2 separate regions of the Homo sapiens genome follow, and region 2 is linked to region 1. The links are contacts of gene promoters, found by promoter capture Hi-C in blood cells and fetal thymus (Javierre and others, 2016). All regions are on one chromosome and are shown on one strand. The core of a region is centred on a gene start or on the middle of the fragment in contact, and the rest is flanking DNA. Distances in the headings are between cores, read along the strand shown.

Region 1 (3,917 bases), core at 1,292-3,791:
CCTTAGGCAAGTCAACAAGTTAACCTCTCTATGCGTCAGTTTCCTCATCTGTATAATGGGAATAAAAATCAGCATTTGTCCCATAGAGTTGCCGTGAGGATTAAATGAGGTAATAGATATAAAGCACTTAAAATAGTGCCTGGCATTTAGTAGGCACTACAGAAATGTCTTAATTTTTTTCAATAAGCTTAAAAGATGTAACTGTACATTCCAATTTTCAGCCTGCTTAGAAGATTAAGCAATGGGACAACTCCTGTAATAGTGAAAGCTGCACAGGCAATAACTGAATTCTAGTCTCCCACAAGTAAGTGGCACATCCCTGAGAGAGGTATTTAACTTCTCTGGCATTTTGTATCTTTATCAGTCAAATGGGGGTAGGGTGGGGGTTCCAGATAGTAGGAAACTACCTCTGGGTGAATATGGGCTGAAAAACATACTGACATACCATCCACTTTAAATAAAATTACCTCCAGCAGCTAAGGATACCTCAGTTCTCACCTAGGATAAACAGAAATGATTTTCTTAAACAACGGCTTGAAGTTACAAGCTCAAAGGCTGTGTTCCAAACAGCCCAGTATTTTTCCAGGGCATAGTCTTGAAAATGTAAACAAAGGCTGGGCACACAGTGGCTCACGCCCGTAATCCCAGCACTTTGGGAGGCTGAGGTTGGCGGACTGCCTGAGATCAGGCGTTCGAGACCAGCCTGGCCAACATGGCGAAACTCTGTCTCTACTAAAAATACAAAAATCAGCCAAGCCTTGGGACACATGCCTGTAGTCCCAGCTATTCGGGAGGCGGAGGCAGGAGGATCGCTTGAACTCGGGAGGCAGAGGTTGCAGTAAGCCGAGATCGCACCACTGCACTCCAGCCTGGGCGACAGAGCAAGACTCTGTCTCAAAAAAAAAAAAATTTTTTTTTAAATAAATTGCCCTTTGCCCTTTACACTCATTTTTTTAAAGAGCAATCAAATGTTTTAATATGAAAAAGCTACCTTAAAAGACAGCTAGCTATTCAAAGAATATTGATACTCCCACAGAATGAAAATGTTAGATTTAATATGCTATTCATCTGTATTTTAAATGCTTTTAAATCGAGAATGAGCAAAAGACTAAGTAGCTAGCTTCCTCGTTTGTATTTTAAGAGTGGTGAAAACTGCCTGAAATAATAAACAAGAATCTTATATGTTAATTCAGAGAAGATACAAACCTGGATACACATTCTGGGGCAAATCACCATGGTTTCCTATGTAAAACAGCGATTTCTCCACATTTGTTCAGCATATATACTAACAGTGCTTTGCTGATGTGGTTACAATGAATTCTCCACAATTCAATTCAACAAGTATTTATTGACCGCCTCCAATCCGCCTAGCACTGGCCCGTACAATAAATGCTTTCTTTGGTCCCAGGCCATGGAACAGCCACTCTCTATAATGAAAGTATCTTACTGTGTACAGGGGGCACTGCAGGAAAGGGAGGGGAGGGATGGAGGAGTGTCAAGCTAAACTGTAGTTAATTCTTCAATTACATTGACCAAATCATTTCGAAGTCGGAAGGGCCTTTTGAGAAAATCCAGTTAGTTTTTATTGATGACGAAATTAAGACTTGGTGAGTGTCTCGTCTTATCCAAGGTCACTCAGCTAATCAGTCTCCTAGTGACACAGTGCAATTTCCACAAATTCCCTTCACTTCTCACCCCACTCCATGTCAAACAGAGCAACTATCCAGAATTGAAAAATCCACCTAACGTCCCGGACAGCTCTTTTCCAAAGCCTTCAAAGCATTCCATCAAGCTGAAAGAGTGGGGTGTATATAATCTCTACTAGATCCCAATCACCTATTTATCCACTATGACTAGGCTTCAAATACTCTTTAATCACCGCTCAGTGATGAGGGTGGGAGAAGGAAAGGCAGGTCTGGAAACGTATGCGGCACCTCAAAATGTGTCCATCTCTCATCCTTCCGCTCATTTCACCTCGAGGTCCCGAAGGAACCGGGGGGGGAAAAAGACACCTCACCGGAATCAAAGCAAATGGCGACTAAGGGAGAGCAGAAAAATCAAGACCGGGGTCGGTTCGCTCGCGACCCCGTTTGCAGAAACGTCAAAGGGCGATGACGACACTGCGGGAGAGGGGCCCACAGACGGCTTCTCCCCGGGTCTCCGGGCACCCTCAGCCACTGAAACCCTCGCCCCCTCCCCGCCTGATCCTGGGGGTGGGGCGGGGACGTCTCCCAGGAAGAACGGCGCTTTCTACGGCCGGGCCCGGCCAGGAGGCAGGGGCATGGACTCTCTTCGCACAACAGCGGGGCCGCCTGGAGGGGGTCCCAGGGCCGCAGCTGCGGAGCCCACCCTCGCGCACACACCCTTGCGGCCCCGCCCTCCCACCCCAGAGGCCGGCCCCAAGTCTCACCGTGAGCCCCGGGAGCGGCCTGGGGGCGCTGGGCGAGAAAGGGGAGCTGACTCTGGGGCTCAGGCCGGCCGAAGGGCACCGCACACGGACTTAGGCCCTCCCGACGCCTCGACACAGACACAATGAGTCACAAAGGCCGGAAGCGTGTCACCACCTCGTCTTCCGGGACCGCGCCGCGCTTCCGGGTCCTCTCTAGGAGCGCGGGAGGACTTTGCATCTCGGTTTCCGAATCGCTGGACCAGGCGCCTGCCCTTGAGTTTTCAAGCCTCCAGCTTGGAGGATCAGGTCCCAGTCCGCCCCTAGTTAATGCAGGGACTAACGGGAGCAGGTGGTGGGGGGTTTCAGGCTTTCCCCTACTCAAACTCAAACAGACTCTCCAGCTCAGACACCAGTCCATGTGAAAGTTCGATTTCACCTGTCTTTTTCATCTCAGGCAGTCCTTGTAGTAATTATAGTTATTATCAAGCAATATAGTACTTGGTAATTGTATGTCTGTGGCAAAGGAACTGAAACAAGGATGTAGACTGAGGAAGATCAAAGTGAAGCCAAGGGTGGCTGGTTTCCCAAAGCTGCCACGGTAGCTTCTCTCAGGGCCCTGGAGCTATATGGAGTGGTATTTTCAAATACTTGGCCCGTGGACAAGGGATGTCTTTCCACAAGCAAGCATAGTTATAAGGTTCTGTGCTTTGCTCATGTGGCATATGCTATTATAGCCGTTTAAAAGGAGTTTTCAGAGTAACAACAGACACTTTTACCTTCAAAGTGCTTTCACAACCTACCACAGTTACAGCCTTCATCTTTGCCTTGCAGGGTAAGGCACGCATAAGAGGGGGCCACGTTGTGCAAGGGTGGGGGGGACTACAGGCTTTAATGGTTGTGACTTTCCACTATGTTCCGAGACAAGTTCATGGGAGAAACTCAGTAGCTTGGTTGCATGACTCTTACTGCTTGGAGAGATTTACTTTTTTTTTTTAGATGGAGTCTCGCTCTGTCACCCAGCCTGCAGTGCAGTGGCACCATCTTGGCTCACTGCAACCTCCACCTCCCAGGTTCAAGCGATTCTCCTGCCTTAGCCTCCTGAGTACCTGGGACTACAGGCGCACACCACCATGCCTGGTTAATTTTTGTATTTTTGGTAGAGAACAGGGTTTCACCATATTGGCCAGGATGGTCTCGATCTACTGACCTTGTGATCCACCCGCCTCAGCCTCCCAAAGTGCTGGAATTACAGGCGTGAGCCACCGTGCCCGGCCAGATTTACTTTTTAAAAAATGTTTGAAAACTAAAAAGCAATGACAGGGCCAGACACGATGACTCAAGCCTGTAATCTTAGCACTTCGGGAGGCTGGGACGGGAGGATTCTTGAGCCCAAGAGTTGGAGACCAGCCTAAGCAACGTAATGAGACCCTCTCTCTACAAAAAATACTAAAATTAGCTGGGTGCAGGGTAGTGTGTGCCAGTGGTCCCAGCTGCTTGGGAGGCTGAGGTAGAAGGATAGATTGAGCCC
Region 2 (3,618 bases), core at 279-2,778, 450 kb after region 1:
TTGCACTGTGCGTGTCTCTTGTATGTGTAAAAGTGTGTATGCATGTCGACTGCATGTCGAGTGTGCAGTGCAGAGATAAGAGAGGAAATGGGATAAAGTTCAGTCTATAGCATACTATGCTATTAGACTGCATTAAACTGCTACAAAGTTTCTTTACTCCAAAAAGTAGACAGGTTAACTGTTGGAAACTCTGTAATTATTAGATAAAATTAACAGTACTTTACAATTATATGTATGTCACTTTACAGTTTACAAAGTTATTAAGTAGATATTCAATTTGATGCCCTGAAATAAATTTAACTTCTTTGCCCTCCCTTCTCCCCTCCATCAAGGACAGAGTAAGGAACACTTAATCAGGAAAGGCAATATAATTGCATCAATCTGTACAGAACCACAAAGAATAAAGGGTAGGAAGGTAGGACCTTGAAGAGGGCCACAGGGACTTCAAGGAAGGAGGAAACCAGAATGTTAAACATGAGGGAAGCCCAGGGTTCACAGGAGAGTTAGGCACCATACGGGGCAGGTTGTGTTCGCCACATAAAAGGAGGGGCACACAGCATAAGTTTCACATTCTAAAATAATATGAAAAGACCATAACTGAAGAGCTGAATTTGGAATTTCTGGTTTTTCACAATACAAGTAGATGATGACCACCAACCATGGTTTCTGAATGAACTGGGTTCAAAACATATCTGGTTGCAACAGAGGGCTTCCTTGGACCCTAACATTTGAAATTAAACAGAGGTAATTTGAGGAGCTGCGATTTTACACAGTGGTGGCATCCTGGGGAGCTTCTATTCCATCAGTCAATTTTAATATCTCACAATCGTGGAAAAGGAGTTTCCGAGCAGGGACGAGCAATATCGATGGGAAGCCGATACTTGGGCCATCTCTTGGAGATTCCTGCTGTAAGGACGGCAAGTGTTTCTCCAGAGAAAGCACTTGCCTGGGTATGACTCAGGGCCGGGCAGGAATTCACACTATGAATCCGGGTGGTGGGAAGGCGGAGAAGTATGCCTACAAAGATTAAAGAGCCAGGAATGGAAAACACACTAAAAACCGTCCCAGTGGGCAGCCTGCCTCCCCACAAATAAGAAGACCTTGAATCCTGAGCATAATCAGGGAGACAAAGCAATGCCCTGGATGCCACCAGCATAGACAAAGCCAACGGAAAAAAAAAAAAGAAAAGAAAATGCATGATTCAGTATTTACACACACAAAAAGAAGAGTGCAGAAGCAAGCAAGAAACTAAAGAAAAAGGAGGCTGGGTGCGGTGGCTCATGCCTGTAATTCCAGCACTTTGGGAGGCCAAGGAAGGTGGATCACTTGAGGTCAAGAGTTCGAGATCAGCCTGACCAGCATGGTGAAACCCCGTCTCTACTAAAAATACAAAATTAGGCGGGCGTGGTGGCCCATGCCTGTAATCCCAGCTACTTGGGAGGCTGAGGCAGGAGAATCGCTTGAACCTGGAAGGCAGAGGTTGTAGTGAGTTGAGATTGCACCACTGCACTCCAGCCTGGGCAACAAGAGTGAAACTCCATCTAAAAATAAAATAAAATAAAAAATATAATATAATATAAAAAATAAACTAAAGAAAAAGGAACAATGCTCACACCAAGGGAGCTGCCGACAAACCCCACTGATGCTTCCCAGCAGCACTACAGCTTGGCTAATCCCAGCTTCCCACTGTACCTTTCAAAATGACAAGGGAGAGACATGAGTTAAGCATTGACCCCACCTCAGCATGGGGTAAACATCTGAGATTTCTGCTGCCCTGGGTGTGGTTACGTGGGATTACCATTCTGGGTGACTCACTGAAATGTACTCACAGTGAGTCATGCCTTCAAATGACATCTCAAGTTCTGCCTGCTTGGAGATACATCTGGGGATCTTAAGGGGTGAGGGACTACTCAACAAGAAGGAATTTAGCCTGTCTTTTTAAATAAACGGCATTTCTTTTTCCTAGAAAAATGGGAAATTCTTCAATTCTCTAATACAGGGACACTGAGATAACAAAGAGGAAAGTGTCTGGTTGGAGGTTGGGAGGCCACCCTGGGGTCTCTCCTACAAAAATGGAAAAGAAAAGAACGGTGAGAAATCAAGCAAAGCACAAGAAAGTTTCCCTTTGCTAAAAGGGAAAAGATGCCCCACAATGGCCATAAACATGAACTGGGGATAAGGAGGAGAATGTCTCTTCTTGGCACCCCCAAACAAACGTTAATTACCCCTCCCGGAGAAGACGATGTGAAAGATAAGGATTCAGAGGTTCTAAGTCCTGGAATCTAAGCCACACTCTACAGACCTTCTCAGAGACCTTATACTTAGGAAGAAACAAGAAAGTAAAGAAATTCAAATAGATAAACCGAATAATAAGGAAGTCCTTACCCAGTGAGACCACGTTCCCATAATTCTCTAACATCACTTCTCTGTAGAGGTCCCTCTGAACAGGGTCCAGGTATCCCCATTCCTCTCGAGTAAGGTGCACAGCCACATCCTCGAATGTCACAAACTCCTGAAATAACACATCCTGGCTGCTCTGAGGAATGAGAACACTGTAGCACCATGGCCAGAGAATGAAGATCATAGAGAGGGTATCCACTGTGTACTTACGTTGAGGAGGAGGGAGAACAGATTAGAACCTACGGAATAAAGCCCATAACCCTTAAACATCTAATAAGCACCCATCACACAACCATGGACAAAGAGAAAACAGAGTTTGCTCATGGCACTGGGGAGATGGGAAGTTGGTTTATGTGAAGTCCAGGTCTCCGAAGAGGATCAATTCCCAAACTGGAGTCTGCTATTGAAAAAAATTCCAGGCAAGGTCTACAGATGGGATGAGAGAGAGGCCACACTCCATCAGTAGCAATAGTCCCTGAGGAAAAGCAGAGGGTTCCTCAGCTCACCTGGTACCTGGCTGTCAAGAGCGCAGCTGCCTGGTCTCCTGGGCTTCCCTCACGGGGAAGAGCAGGCACCTGAGGAACAGGTGGAGCTGAGGGAGGAGAAAGGAGTGAAGAGTGAGAGCAGCCCTTTCCCAGGGCTCCCTTTCAGAGGAGGCCTCTCCAGCCCAAGGGGTGTCAGCAGGACCCTCCTCAATACTCTAGTAAAACCAATGAACATTTTTCAGGTATTGGGTGTGTCTACTCTGCTTCGTCTCAGTACTTGCATGCCTTATGCGTGTTTTGACCTGTGATACAGGATTTTCTTAGGAAAGCTTGTATTTCACTTTATCTTCATCACATGACAGTCCTCTTACAGAAGAGTAAGACTATACCTGTTTTGCAGATGGGCAAAGCAAAGCATAAAGACTTGTGGGGACTTGTCCTGGGCTAGGGTTATTTAGCAGACTTCTGACCCTTTCCAGGCACTGTTCTAGACACTTGATCAGCGTTTCTCTTGTGAATGGGTGCTGTCTCAACCAGTGTGTAAGGCCCCCAAGAACAAGAAAGGGTCATCTGTTTCCTCGAAATCTTTTCCACAGTCCCACAATCCCCCACAGCACTCTACACATTGTGGCACTTGATCTGTGTGGGTGACACACAAGTTATTTCAGGCACTAGAGTTAACCACAGGCAATCTAAGACACAGCTCTTATAAAACAAAGGAAGAAAAAGACCA

The links. Contacts are between HindIII fragments. The CHiCAGO score rates a contact against its expected background, and 5 or more counts as called.
Region 2: a contact is called between a fragment that was not itself captured here and the fragment with the promoter of ZKSCAN1 in region 1, in 3 of 17 cell types (erythroblasts, M1 macrophages and M2 macrophages). The highest score is 6.9, in erythroblasts.

The regions. Positions count from the first base shown.
Region 1 is chr7:100,014,220-100,018,136 of GRCh38, reverse strand. It overlaps ZKSCAN1 (zinc finger with KRAB and SCAN domains 1), which reads right to left and starts at 2,541. Exons shown (of 6, transcript NM_003439.4): 1 at 2,411-2,541. RefSeq lists a silencer at 2,286-2,455. The HindIII fragment of the contact is 19,683 bases long and covers 190-3,917 here.
Region 2 is chr7:99,561,262-99,564,879 of GRCh38, reverse strand. All of the region lies in intron 2 of ZNF655 (zinc finger protein 655), which reads right to left. Among named protein-coding and RNA genes, the nearest start is that of ZNF655, 4.4 kb to the right of the region's middle. The HindIII fragment of the contact is 3,376 bases long and covers 1-3,216 here.